2 separate regions of the Homo sapiens genome follow, and region 2 is linked to region 1. Evidence: promoter capture Hi-C in 16 types of primary human blood cells and fetal thymus (Javierre and others, 2016). All regions are on one chromosome and are shown on one strand. The core of a region is centred on a gene start or on the middle of the fragment in contact, and the rest is flanking DNA. Distances in the headings are between cores, read along the strand shown.

Region 1 (7,389 bases), core at 1,411-3,910:
TCCTAACAGGCCACAGACTGGTACTAGTCTGTGGCCTGGGGGTTGGGGATCCTTGATGTAAGGTCAGGGTTCAACATCATTTTTTCCACTCTGGTGTCAGAGGTAGGGACAATGATGCACCTCTCTCTGAGTGACATCACCATGTTAGATGCTGAATGTTTCTGGCAGAAGCACTCAAAGCAGTCCCACGTTTCCTGACTTCTTTCTCGATGAGCCAGAAGCAAAGGTGATCAAGGCCCAAGTACACTCAGTGCTGCTGTGGCCAAGGTACAGCCTCCAGGTACAACTGGGCAGAAGAAGGGAGCCCCCACCTCTGCCATACTTGCTTAGAACTTAGTCTCAACAACAGGTAGCTGCGGGGAGGATGACAAATGCTGATGTTTTGTCCCTCCTAGGAAGCTGACCCTCCAACTGGGAGCTGAAGGGTGAGGGAGCCCTGTGTTCTTGGCTGCACCAGTATAGCGTGGAGCCCTCTCTGAGTTGGAAGCATGAAAAGAGTGAGTAGGTCTTGGTTCAAATACCTCAAGCTCACTTTTCTTACTGGGTTTCAGTAGGTTTTCTTGAATAAATGTTCCTTCATTTGTTGTGCACCTTTAGGACCATTTTTAGAAATTTAAATGGTTGCTTATATATAAAACATATAATTTTCACCAGTTTTGCTTTGAGCTGGGTGTACAGGGCTTCTCATGTTGTTATGCCTCTGTGGGTTCTGTTTCAATAACTTAAAGTCAGTGAGAATGTGGACAGTGGAAAACCACACAATTCAAAGTCCAGTGCTCACATAGTAATTTAATATGCACACACGTATCAACTATGAAAATGGCTCAGAACTAAATACGGATTGGGTTGACAGTAACTAAAGTAGGGAGTCCTGCATGGTTAGACCTCCATTCCCCATAAATTCATGGAGTATCTACTATATGGAAGGTATAGGAATAGAAGATAAACCGCTAAAAATTCTGAAAATTAGGAGATTTTCACAAAAACAGAACTAACAAACTAATAAGCTAAGGCAGCCTATTCTAAGTGCCCAGAGAATACATGCTCCAGTTTTTCAGAAGCACAAGAATTATGTGGGACTGGAGTAGTCAGATAGGATTTCTGTGGAGGAAGCGTGAGCTGAGTCCCATTTAGAAGAAAGGTAGGATTCAGCCGGGTGTGTAGGTTGTTGGGAGGGCATATTCCAAGGAGGCATTCCAAAGCAGAAGAGCTCAAATGTGATTGTATTTGGAATACTTGGGTATTGATGACTAGACCTGCCTGCTTGCTGGAAGGTTTGTATAGAGAGATCAAGATGGAGAAATGAGATGGAGAGTGATCAGAAATGCAGGAGAGGCTGAGTTGTTGGACCATGGAGTTTGGACTTTATCTTAGAGAAGAGTGACTTGGGCAAGATATTTTAGGAAAATGGTTTTGCCTGTAGTGTGTAGATGGAATGAAATCTCTGCGTGTGTATGTGTGCATGTGCATACGTGCACATGCACCAGGAAGCCTGGAGGCAAGGACATTAGTTATAAGATTGTTACAGAGGTTTGGATTAAGTGAAGGGATTAGGAATGGAAAGGAAGTGTCTGGTGGATGGTAAGATATAACCAGGACCTCAATAAAGCCAAGCAATTATTAAAACAAGCATGGTAGTTGTGTCCATAAACATAAAGTCCTAGAATGCAAGCTGATTTAGCGATTTGAGATAGTAAGTATATTTTAATTTAAACGGAGTCTCTTTATTTTTGAATTTGCATATACTTTTCTTCCCTCTTCTTATTCCTCTGTCAATACCTCGCACTTATTCTTCCTTTCCGCAATCCCTCTCTTTTAATTTGATCACAAATTAATCTCTTGTATGTATTTACAGGAGGAAACCAATGGCAAACGTTGTGTATGGTTGCAAGGATGAGTTTCTCCCCCTTGAAAATATCCATTCGCATAGAAATGGGAGGCACAGTGACCAACTCTTGCTTCTTAGCAGGTCTAACATGACCTTCAAAACTCCGTAGGACATACTGGTCTTTGGCGGGGCAGCATCTCCCGTCAGACTCAGGCTGGCTGGGTTTCTCACAGCTGCCTGGATGTGTGTGACTCGCAGCTCTAAGGACAGAATTGCCAAAGCAATACAAAAACACGGACGAAAAGCAAGCCACAAAACCCCATGCCTTACACATTAGGCTGATGAGTGAAGTCGCGGAAGGTGGCTCTGCTCTTGCCCTTTTAAAATTCCAGTGCAGCAAACACACACACACACACCCGCTCGGTTCTTCCCATTCCCGCCACACTGCACCAGCTTCCGTCCCCAAGTCCTGATTCATGAACCGTGCCACCTTTGTCTCATTTTAAACTGTGCAGACTATTTTAATCTTGCCACCCCCATCCCAGATTTCCCCCTCCCTTCATCCTCTGGAAGCTCTGATGTAAAGCGCTTGCTAGGTGGGAGAGCGCTTCTCCCAATCCGCTCGGGTAGGCGAGTTTCCGAGAAGCCCCCTCCCCGGGACCCCGCCGCGAGCGCGGGGGAAGCGCCTCGGTCCCTTTAAGGTGCCGCGCTCTCCGAAGTGCGGGCAGGGAGCCTGGGCGCCGGCGCGGGTCCTGGAGCCGGGTGGGGAAGTCCTGCGCCCTCCCCCTCCGTCCGCAGCCCAGCCTCGGGGGCCAGCCCCCTCCGCCCACCGCACACGGGCTGGCCATGCGGCGGCTCTGAACGATGTCCTCCTCCTCCTACGCCAAGAACGGGACCGCGGACGGGCCGCACTCCCCCACCTCGCAGGTACCGCCCCCTCCTCCCCCTTCTCCTCTTCCTCCTCTTCCTTCCTCACACCTCCTCCGCCGCCCTAGCGCGCCCCGCCTTCGTGCCGGGCGTGCGGGGCCCCAGTCCCGGGAGTCGGCGGCCCCGCTCCCCCCACCCCTCCTCCACGTCCCTTTCTCCTCCCGCTCCTCCTCTTTCTCCTCCTTCTCTTCCTCCTCCTCCTCACCCTCCTTCGGGTCTCTGCGCTCCCGCTCCGGAGCCCGCAGCCTCCCCCAGCGGATGCCGGGGACTCGGACCCCGCACCCTGAGAGTCTTTGTTAATGGATGTGGTGGGTGCTTGCGGGCTGCTCTTCTCGAGCATCTTTTCAGCAGTCGAGGCTTGCAGTGGGTGGGTGGGGGTGGGGGCTGTATTTGGGAGTCGCGGAGGAGACTTGGGTGCGGGCTCTAGGGGACCCCAGGGAGCGGGTCCGGAGGCGGACTCCAGCCGGGGGTGGTCGCCCCGCTCTGCGCTGCGGTCCTCACCGGCTTCTCTCTGGCCCCCGTGTGTCGAGTCCAGGTGGCCCGAGGCACCACAACCCGGAGGAGCAGGTTGAAAAGATCCGATGGCAGCACCACTTCGACCAGCTTCATCCTCAGACAGGTATGAGAAGGAGGCGGGAGACCAGGATGGGGAGGAGGCCGAGCGCGCGGCGCGGGGGTCCTGGAGCCGGCCGTGGCCCACACGTGCGGGAGCTGCGGGTCAAGCCCGCGCGCGTCTCTTCCCGGCCTCGGCCGGTGCTCGGGCTCAGTCCCTCTCCCTCTAGCCTGGGCTCTTGACGTCTTCGCGTCCCGGCGTCTCCGCACCGCCCCGGGAAGTTAGTTTGTGCATGTGTGTGGACAGTTCGGTGGGGACCTGGCTTAAGTCAGGGACGTTGAATTTAAGAGCTGGAAATATGTCTGGTTGTATCTTTGGTGCGTGGAGAAATGTCTTTAATTCGTATAACTCGACCTAGAGTAACCAGACCCCTCGGGGCCGGGGACCTGGTTTGATTCGAGTTGAGATTTAGTGGTTTCTTCTGTTTTGTCCTAATTTGAATACTCTTATCTGTCTGGATCTTGGGAGAGATCGTCAAGCTCCGGTCAAAAGAAAGACACTGAGCAGAAAGTTTACTCTCACTTTAGGACCGCTTCTTGGATTCGCTTAGTTAGGGAAAGACAGCTGTATCTGGTTAAATAGGAATTAACGAAGGCCAGCACTCAGCTCCGGGTCTGGGTGCGCCTTCACTTCGTGTTTGTTTTCTTAGTGCTTGCTTTCTCCTGCGTGGTTCTAGTGCGAATTGTCTGTGCTCGGGATCTCCGGATCGCTGGTAATGCTCAATGCTTAGGTGCCTTTCACCTTGGCACAGGAAATTGGTCCTCAGTTTTCCAACTGTCCATGTGCTGTTAATGAAACCACCCCTGGCTGCTGGGTGCTAGAGAGATCATGCAATGAGTCACCTTGATCTTTCTTTGGAACAGAAATTGTCGGGGTGTGTCCTAGGTTTCGGGTGACCTAGGAAGACATTGGTCATCGCACCAAGAGGCTTTTATCCCAGGTCTTCCTGTGGGCTGCTGGAGTGACCTTGAGAAGTTCTTTTCCCTCTAGGTCACTCAGTATTGTGTAATGTGTTTTCTAACCTATGATGGCAGCTCTGGTGTTTCTTTAGTGATTATCATCAATTTAAACATATCAACGAGGAATTGATATCAAAATTGAACTCAGACCTCTCCTAAAAGGGTCTATAAAGCATATTTAGATGATATTTATTATGCAGAATTTCACTTTCTGCAGAAGCGGAAATTTTGACTACCATTTAATTCAGCGAGCACTAAGCATGTACATTATGGAAATAAATGCATTTTGGATTCCGAATTCATTCTAAAAGTGCATTCTATCCCCTTTGCAGTATTTAGATTATGTATTTGATAAGGCAAACATATTGTTTATCTTAAAAACATTTTTCTGTTATGCAACTGTTTGAGGTCTTGCTGGTGTTTATTTTGTAGGTGCCTATTTTTAGTGGTGTTTCATTGTTGCAAATTCTTGGAAATACTAATTACACAGCAGTTCTTTCCATAAGCTGTTTGACTAAAACTTTTGAGTTCATCTACATAACTGCACTAATGCTTTATTCTTCCTTCCAAGCACAAACAAAATAATATTCTAATATTCTTACTCTTTTCTCAATTTATGCCCGTAACTGATTGAGATGATGTATATATAAGTTCTTGTAAAGCGTGCTGCTATGTGCTGGCTTAAGAAATGTTAAAAGTATTGCATGCTAAATAATTTTGGGAATAATTTAAAGCAAAGTAGATTTTTTTAAATAAATATATTTCATCTATGAAATGGGAATTCATTGGTTTGATTAAATGGTCTAATTTAAATTCAGGAGTTAATTGTAATTGTATTATATACACAATCTTATTTTTCGGCACAAAAATAGTACTTAATTTTTTTCTTTTTTCAGACGGAGTCTTGCTCTGTCGCCCAGGCTGGGGTGCAGTGACGCAGTCTCTGCTTACTGCAAGCTCTGCCTCCTGGGTTCACGCCATTCTCCTGCCTCAGCCTCCCGAGTAGCTGAGACTACAGGCACCCGCCATCACGCCTGGCTAACTTTTTTGTATTTTTAGTGGAGACAGGGTTTCACCGTGTTAGCCAGGATGGTCTTTATCTCCTGACCTCGTGATCTGCCCACCTCATCCTCCCAAAGTGCTGGGATTACAGGCGTGAGCCACCATGCCCGGGCTACTTAATTTTTATGAGCACTTTACAACTCACTGAGTATACTACACATGATCTCATTCAAATGACATCATACAGACTTCTGTATTGGCTACAATAAAAATAACTGAGGGATTTACATTTCTTTGATGAGATAAGGAAAATGATTACAAATGCAGTTTAACAATAACTTTCGGATAAAATTGAAATCACCCCAATGCCAAAAAATATTTTTTATGAAAGCATAACAGCTGCTTACGTTAACAGAGCCTTGGGCTGGTCACAGTGGCTCACGCCTGTAATCCCAGCACTTTGGGAGGCTGAGGTGGGCGGATCACTTGAGGTCAGGAGTTTCAAACCAGCCTGGTAGCATGGTGAAACCCCGACTGTACTAAAAATACAAAGAAATTTGCCAAGCGTGGTGGTGTGTGCTTGTAATCCCAGCTACTCGGGAGGCTGAGGCAGGAGAATTTTTTGAACCTAGGCGGTGGAGGTTGCAGTGAGCCAGTATTGCTCCACAGCATTCCAGCCGGGCGACAGAGCAGGACTCCATCAAACAAACAAACAAACAAAAACAGAGTCTCATTATTTGTAGAATGACCAGTGATTTATTGATATTTGAATTCTTGATACATTGGAGTGATGAAATTTCTTGGTGCTGTTTCACAGTCTTTGTGATGCCTTTGAAGAAGATAGTGGAATACCAAAAAATATATATATTGCTAGTTTCTTTATCATATTATTTACAAAAATATGGAGAAAAGCTTTCATTAAAAAAAAAATCGATGTGTTACATTGGATGGGGAAGACTGGGCTGTTGGTGAAGCAGAGAAGGCAGTTGGCAACTCACCCAATAAGACAATATTTGTTCTTTGAGCTTGTTAAAAAGTTTCAGTGTTTCTGAGACTATATATGCACATATGTGTGCATGCACACACATGAACATTTGAATTGGCTGGAAAACAAGCAGACTGAGAAAGAGAGCCTGCTTCCACTCTGAGGACTGCTCATGAAGCCCCTCAGGAATCTTTGACCTTGTTTCTGGTCTACAAGATTTCTGGCTTCCACCATTTAGGAGGGATGGAGGTTTTGGAATGAATCCAGGGAGCAAATAAATGGCTTCTTTGAGGAAAGGTGAGAAGATGAAGTACTTTGCCGCTGAAAGGAAAGAAAGCTAGGAGTGACCCAGAAATGATCTTCAAAGTACACACAAAGGCTTTCTTTGGAAATGTGATGAAGTGTTCTCACTCTTCATTGGGGATGAAACTCAAGAACTGGCCCAAATTAGAAAGGAATGATGTTTTACAGCAAGACCTTCCTAAGAGTGTTGCCATCATTGGAGTGGCTTTCCAAATGAGGCCATAGAATTTTCTTTCAGGAGAGCCCTTCTTACAGGCTATTTATGAATGGATTATCTAGTCATATTTTAAAGTTTTAGGAAACACTTAAGTATTTGCTATGTGCCTAGCACTATGTTAGATATTGTAGGGGAGGAATGAAAAGATGGATGAGACACAGCCCCTGTACTCAAAGATTTTTATAATCTAGCAATGGAGACAGAGATGTCTACAAACAGTACGGTGACATGTAACAAGGAACGAGAGGGCGGGCTCAATGACCATGTACCCCGAGTATCTATTATATATCCATAAGTATATCTACCCATGGGTGTCACTACACATACAGTTTATACGGCTGAGTACTCCAAGTTAGTCCTCTTCCCACTGGGGTTTGAAGAGAAAATCTGATCAGAGTGGGAATAGTTTGTTGACTTTTCCTTGTTAAGTCTGCTCTTATGAGGCCAGCAAAGTCATACCTGGCCTGGCCCCTGCCTGCTTCCAGCCTCATCTTGAGCCATGATCTCTTAGCTCTGGACACAGAGTTTGAACACACTGTCTTCCCTCTTGCCACT
Region 2 (7,389 bases), core at 2,076-4,575, 520 kb before region 1:
TTATTCTAGGTGACTCTGGGGCATCCAAAAGGGCTCCAGTCATTGGGATGAATGAGCCCCAGTGACCGGCTGGCAGAGCTGCAGATGGGATCCTGGAAGGGATGGAGATTGGGAAATCTTTACAGCTAAGACTGGCTTTTAGACTTTGGGCAAAAGGCTCTGAGAACTATCACAGCCTTGGAAATGGAGGCTATTAGAGTGGTAGTTCTTTATTGTAAATAAGAGACCTCATGAACAGGCTGAAGTAAATGAGGAGGCAGAATTACCCCACGTCACAGGGATGGCAAAGCTTAGAGCAATTCCAGATGCCAGGGAAACACTTCAGGACTGAGAAAACGGCTCGTAGCGTCATCTTTGTTTCCGTGAGTCAAAACAAAGAGCTTAGATTTCAAGGCATTAGAGTGACTCTTCCTCCTGCTCTAACCCCTACCTCCCATTTTATTTCTGGTGAGGTGAGGATGCTGTTTTCTATCTTCTGGTTGGCAAGAGGACATGAATTATTTGGCAGCATTTTAAGGCATGATAATACGGCTGTTGGCAGCACTTCCTCCTTGAAGTTTAAATCCACTCTAGCAAATTCTGATGTTCTCGAATGCTCAGAAGACATGCCTGGAAGCCTACGTCAGGCAATTACACATAAAAGCATGTTTCCCTTTTATAGATGACATCAAAAATACCATTTAAAAAAAAAAAGATCCAGAAGCACTCAATGTCTGTGCCTAATACTGAGCTTTGAATACTACAGGTGTCCAGAAAGTATCTGCTGAACCCACAAAAATGCACTGATCCTCAAGCAGGTAGCTTGTCTCTCTTCCATTCTCTCGGTGGGGCCAGTGGAAGGCAGGAAGATGGTGTAGGAGATCAGAACCTCCCATTGTGGGGTGTGGTTGTGACAAAGACTACTCAGAGCAAAGTGCCTCCCATGCGTGATGATGTTCCCTCTATCGGCTACATCAGCAGGAATTTCTTATACTAGGAAGAGATACACATCATTGCAAGAGACCTGGACTTTGAAAGAATAGCTTCAACTCTCCGAGATAAGACAGCATTTCTGATATGAGTACCTGGGTTTGAATTCTGTGCTCTTACCTGCTAATCCTGAGTTGAAAACCACTGTGGGTGAAGATGTTCCAGGCAGCGGAGGTGCAGAGGGAAGGGGAGGTGCTAAGGGAGGAGCTGGTACAGTCTCAGCTGCAGGGCCTGGGAGAGGAGGAGGCGGAGGGGGCGGTGGGGGAGGAGGAGGTGGAGGAGGGGGCGGCGGCGGCGGTGGCATAGGTGGTGTTACTGGACCATTTTGCACTAGCAAAGAAAAAAGAAACAGATGGACTTTGAAAATACGGGAATGGCTTTCCTGCAATAAGCCATGTGCATATAAAGCCATCTGAAAACAACACACTTAAAAGGACAAAGGACTGTTTTCAAAAACCAAAAAATGTCCTCATTGACATGTGGGAAAAATATTTCAACATATGTGAAATGAGGATTTATAAATTTAATCTCAAAATGTAAACAGTTAAGAACTACTCAAGAAAACCAATTCTTAAAGAACATGCCAACAAAAACGGACAAAGGACAGAAGTGGACAGTTGGCAAAAGAAGAAATACAAATATTCCAAAACTTCCTCAGTCCTCCTGCCAAGGCTTCTTACCTGTTTCAGGTGTGTCTGATGAGGGAGGCAGTGGTGGTGGAGGAGGGGGCAAGGGTCCTGAGGAAGCGGCCCCCATTGTGGGTCCCACAGAGTTACCTGCTACCACTTCTGACCCCATGGACAATGTGCCAGAAGCCACAACTGGCAGTATGGCGATATCCCCATCCCCTTTCTTCTGAATTTTAATGGTCCCTTGTTTCTCTAGCTCATGAATCTTTTTTTCCAGGGTAGACTGTCTTTGAATTGCTTCTTCTTTTTCTTTGACCATTTTTCTTAATGTGTGAACTTGAGTATTTGCATCTTTGTAGATTTCCTGCAATAAAGTCCAAGGTCAAGAGTTTATCTTCACATAACATTCATACTTAGTAGCATCAGATTGGCAAACTGAGGATAAAGAGAAAAAAAGATACTCATATGAATGGGAATTCTTTGGAATTCAGCTAGAACCTATAAAGTCCCATTAATTATTAGTTGTATGCTAGTAATGCATGTAATATATTCTAGCTATTGTTGTTGGTAATGAAGTTCTTTCCATTTAATAAATGCAGCTAACTCAATTTTCCCTGCAGGTGGAAAGAAACAGAGCAGAAATGACCCGGAATGCTGACTCTGGAATCTCCTGAGGGTGTTCTGGTGGTGCATGTTTTCCTTCCTTTTATTTTAACATTCATTTGTAACTCTTAGATACACATATCAGCTAACAATAGACAAAAGGGCCCTAAATCAGACTTGGATACAAATCAGACTGGGATTAAAAATCTGCAAAGCATGGAATAATCTACTCATGAGTAACCAGGGGCTGACTGTTTCTGAATGGCTTTCTCTGGCCCTCACAACGCCCCCTTGACCAAGCTCAGGATAGCGATTGTTGTAACATTTTCCCATCGGTAATGCGGTTAACAAAACAGGCCAAAGCTTCCCTTCACTAATTACTTATTTCTGTCTAGCTTTTTAGCAGAAAACAAAGAAGTTACAATTTTCAATTCAAAGACTGTCCTGGTTCCTTTTATAAGGGGGGGGCCCATAGAGGTTCTAGTGAAAGGGTTTTATGGAACTGAACTTCCTTGCTGGGCCTTGTACAAGCGATCTCTCACCACAAACCTCCAGCAAGCAGGGAAACATTCTTCACACCCTGTCTATTACTAATAATCTAAGAGTCTGAAGTTGAATTGAGTCCATATGCTACAACTCTGTCTCGAAGGCGTGCCAGAAAATATATTTCCTGGACTGAACTGTAGGACATGTCAGGATATCAGACACACACAGACACGATAACCATCACATAAAAGGTGCAATTTCATTAGCAGTGGTGTAAAGGCAAGCCATTTGCCTTAAAGCTCTCCAGGCATTTTGGTGTTCTTATGTTCAGCACAATTCCAAGCACAGGGATGGCACTCCATAAATACCTGGCACATAAGGTAAACAATACTAAGGCCAAATAAAATAGCTGGGATTAGCTGATAATAAAATGGATTGGGTTTGCTTTGCACATCCCCTCCCTTTTTTTGGTGAATGCCATTAAGCCTAGCCTGTGTTGTATTTCACTGTTTACACAGCAACCACCAAATCTGGTTTTGAGTGGAAGCAAAGCAAAAAAATACAAAGAAGCTCAAGTCCTAATAAAAATAAATAAGTGGCATGAATTAAATCCATGCTGTGTTTTTATTTCCAACCAAATGGGTGTTCCACAGAATTAACTCAGCCTCCTCCAGATGGGAAAACACTGTTGCTCCCAAAATCTGTGATAAGGAAATACTGAACCCCCAGTATCTGATTGCACACACATGTGTATACATAACGCCGACTATGTGTAGTTTTCAACTGAGCATCACCTCTCAAAGGTTTCCAATAAATATGCTGCATCAATGCATTCCTCTGAAATGAAGGTACTCTGCGTTCCACTGGACGAAAGCTGGAGTACATTCCCTACCGTGCCCATCTGGGCAGTTGTCATCATTACACTTACCCGAACGACATCCAGCTCCTTGTTCCTCTGCATGAGTTGCTTTTCCAGTTCCACAATCTTGGACATGGCTTCATTCTCTGTGTCTTGCAGTTTTTCAGATAACTGTAAAATTTTGAAAAGAAAGCTGTCACAATACAGGATCATCTTGATCAGCCCTCAGTTCTCAGAAAGTGCAGCTCCAAGATTATTAGGGACCAGGGCCCTGCATGTGTTCCGCAAGTTGTTTTCTGGAAATGGTAATGTTTATAATATGGTTCTGAATACATATTTGCTTCTACCAGGAATTGATAACTTAGACATGATTCTTAATAAGACCCACATGTCTGCTCCTTAGTGTTCAACATACACAGTGTGCCTCCCTCCATTTCTGCAGGGGCTAGCAAGGGTAGAGGAAAGTAAGGAGAAAGAGGAGGGAAAGTCCACCTCCATCCCCCACTCCATGCCAAGAAAGGGCCATCAGCCTAAAGCTTTTGAAAATTGGTAACACAGTAAACTTGGTTCTTTCAATCTAGGTAGCCAGTTGAAAAACAACTACTGCTTGGTTTGACCAAACTATGCAAGTAATAAAAGTTGGTTGCCACGCCTGTAATCCCAGCACTTTGGGAGGCCAAGGTGGGCGGATCACCTGAGGTCAGGAGTTTGAGACCAGCCTGGCCAACATGGTGAAACCCCATCTCTACTAAAAAATACAAAAATTAGCCAGGTGTGGTGGAGTACACCTGTAATCCCAGCTACCAGGGAGGCTGAGGCAGGAGAATCACTTGAACCCAGGAGGCAGAGGTTGCAGTGAACCAAGATCGCGCCACTGCACTCCAGCCTGGGTGACAGAGTAAGACTCTATCTCCAAAAAAAAAAAAAAAAAAAACCCACAAAAATAATAATAATAATAAAAGTTATTTGGGGGAGGCCATTCAAATAGATTGCTGCTACAAAAGTGGACATGTAAGTATGGTCATGCAATGTTGGCTGAGGCTTCAGGAGAAAGACAGGGTGAGCCATGTGTTAAACAGCTGCTTTTCACATAGGGCTCTAACACTGAGCAACTTCTGATTTCTAACATCTCCTTTAAATTCATTACAAGTAAAGAAAACCAGGGAGGCAAGGTAAGGAGGAAGAGTGGAGATTTACACTGATTGGGTTCAGCATATAACACAAATCTTCTAAGGGAAGATATACTGGGCCTGTAAAATTCTCTTTTTAAGCGGATGCCAGCTGGGTCATAGCGGCACTTTTAAAGGGAGGGTTTTTGGCTCACCAACTTGGCTTACCCACAGCCATGAAGAGACCCATTTTCACAGTGATGGGGAAAGGTGAAGGAAACTGAGCATATGCAGCACTCTTTAAAAAACATGTGGAGAAAAATAAATGAACTGTTCAAAGGAGAAAATAATAATCCTCCAAAAGGAGACACTTCATTTCATAATCAAGGAAAGTGCTCACCAGACTCACCAAAAGAATTTGGTCTTCATAATGCTTGGGTTTTTGAGAAGCACCATTTTTCTGTTAATTCTTTTACTACTGAAATATGTGGTTAATGAATGAACAAATAATCTCTAAAGGCCCTTAGAGTCATATTCAAATCAGTCTATGGCAAGAAAAATCCCTCAAAGAAAAATGAGACCCTGTCCTGTGATAGAGCTGACAACGATACTGAGGACATTCTTCAAAGAACAGGATATATGAGAAAGCACACCGATGTCCTTGAAAATGCCTATTGTTGAAATGACTCTATTAAGAATTTGAGTACCGTAAGACAGGAATGTTCAGACATGCATCACAGAGACACCAGCTAATCCTGTCCATGGGTTTGTGTGGACATAGTTGATAAGAAGATACCTCTTCGCCTCAGGCCAAATTCTCATATTTAATTTCCCTCTAATCATTTACGTAATGCCAATCATCAAACACCCCCACTCTGCTTGAGCCTGTAAGCAAGACTGCCAGGAAATGCACCTCAGCAGAAACTGAGCAGGTAAGTGAGCTAAAGCAAAGCAACAGATTCTATTTCATTTTACATAACACATCTGCTTTTTGGAAAAAACACAGAACAGCTTCTGATAGCTCTCTCTTGCAGGGTATGGCCTATTCCTATACTCCAAATCCTTAAATTTACCACCATAAAAGCTGACATTAATTCTGCTTTGCAACCAGCTGAAATGTAAGCAATTTTTCCTTTTCTGAGATATAGTTACATGAGAAATGTTTTCTTCCAGTTCTTCCACCCTCTCCAAGGCAGCATTCTTAGTTTCAGCATCTTCCAGTAGAGCTCCTACATCAAAAACATTGTCCAGGTAAGCCTGGATCTGGACTTGAAGCTTGTCACTCTCAGTGTGTTTCAGCTTCTAAAAACCAGAATAGGAGAGAACGTGGTGTTAGCTCATCTATGGAAATAGAACATCATTTCCTAAGAGTCTGTCTTTTTTGTTTTTTGTTTTGTTTTGTTTTGTTTTGAGATGGAGTTTCACTCTGTCACCCAGGCTGGAGTGGAATGGTATGATTTCAGCTCACTGCAACCTTCACCTCCTGGGTTCAAGCGATTCTCGTGTCTCAGCCTCCCAAGTAGCTGGGATTACAGGCACGCGCCACCACACCCAGCTAATTTTTGTATTTTTAGTAGAGACGGGGTTTCACCCTGTTGGCCAGGATGGTCTCGATCTCCTGACCTCGTGATCCACCCGGCTCAGCCTCCCAAAGTGCTGGGATTACAGGCGTGAGCCACCACACCCAGCCAGTCTATGTGTTTTCTTTTCGACAAATAGTCCAGCCCTTTCCAAGAGAGCTTAACATGTCATCTTCCTTAAGAGAATTATGGAGTGACTGCCTAAGCAGTATCATCAGATGACTTTCGGGTGAATACGCTCTCCCAAATGCACACACATTTTCCCCCAAATCCTTACTGCCCCATGTAGTTATATTCCTATGTAAAACATTTTGATATACATGAAATTGGGACAACAGAAAAATTAAAAGCAGCTTTAACAGGTTATAGTCATGGCCACATAAAACCTGAGGGGTATCTGTGTAGTGGAAAAGACTGGAGTGTTTGGTATCTTACCTGGTTAGTTACAGTGGTTCCAGTAGGGGAAGAAGGTTAGGCGAGAGGTGGGGCAGACACTGACAGAGTTTATACTTAGCCTTGGGGATTATTTTAGCACAAATTGCTAGAGCCCAACCTCCACACATCCCTCCCTAAGTCAGTATACAGCATGAACAGCTCAGGGCTCCCCAAGGCAGATCAGAAAGCTTTCCCCAATTCACTGCCTCCCAAACTAGGCATCCTGCAGGGACTCAGCTAGCTCTGGAAATTAGAGGTCAAATAAATCAGTGAATCTTCCCTACAAGTAACATAAGTCATGACTTTCCCTGGGGAACAGATGAGTGATTAGAATAATACCTGGTGCATGGATGATGCCAATCAACATTTATTGAACAAATCAATGGCTACTTACAAGGCTGGGTTTTTGTAAACTAGTGAAGCATTTATATAGCATACATTTACATTACTCTTCTAACCACCTCTATTAGGTTCCAGAGTCAACACATGATGAAGTTAAAGAAATACAGAGTTTTGACAAAAAATCTTACATTTTTAAGAGAAATTCCACTCTACATAAATTTTCAGAAAAATGGATTTTCCCCTAGGTTTAATCTGGAATTCTACAATACAGCTTATTCTGAAGAGAGAGTGTTCTGTTTTCATTTATGAGTCACAAGTGAGAATGGCTTCTAAATAAGGGCAAAGGCTAGAACAAAAGGAGAAGCAGCTTAATGGGA

The links. The method cuts DNA at HindIII sites, captures the fragments that hold promoters and counts their contacts. A CHiCAGO score of 5 or more calls a contact.
Region 2: a fragment that was not itself captured here is called in contact with the fragment with the promoter of CACNB4 in region 1 in 3 of 17 cell types (fetal thymus, M1 macrophages and naive CD4 T cells); the score reaches 6.2 in fetal thymus.

What each region holds. Positions count from the first base shown.
Region 1 is chr2:152,094,315-152,101,703 of GRCh38, reverse strand. It overlaps CACNB4 (calcium voltage-gated channel auxiliary subunit beta 4), which reads left to right and starts at 2,660. Exons shown (of 14, transcript NM_000726.5): 1 at 2,660-2,755; 2 at 3,291-3,374. The coding sequence starts at 2,693. RefSeq lists a silencer at 2,462-2,751. The HindIII fragment of the contact is 7,735 bases long and covers 1-6,243 here.
Region 2 is chr2:152,613,419-152,620,807 of GRCh38, reverse strand. It overlaps FMNL2 (formin like 2), which reads right to left. Exons shown (of 26, transcript NM_052905.4): 12 at 5,808-5,957; 13 at 3,616-3,717; 14 at 1,650-1,962; 15 at 1,090-1,299. Among named protein-coding and RNA genes, the nearest start is that of PRPF40A, 100 kb to the left of the region's middle. RefSeq lists an enhancer at 1,392-2,591. The HindIII fragment of the contact is 1,518 bases long and covers 2,567-4,084 here.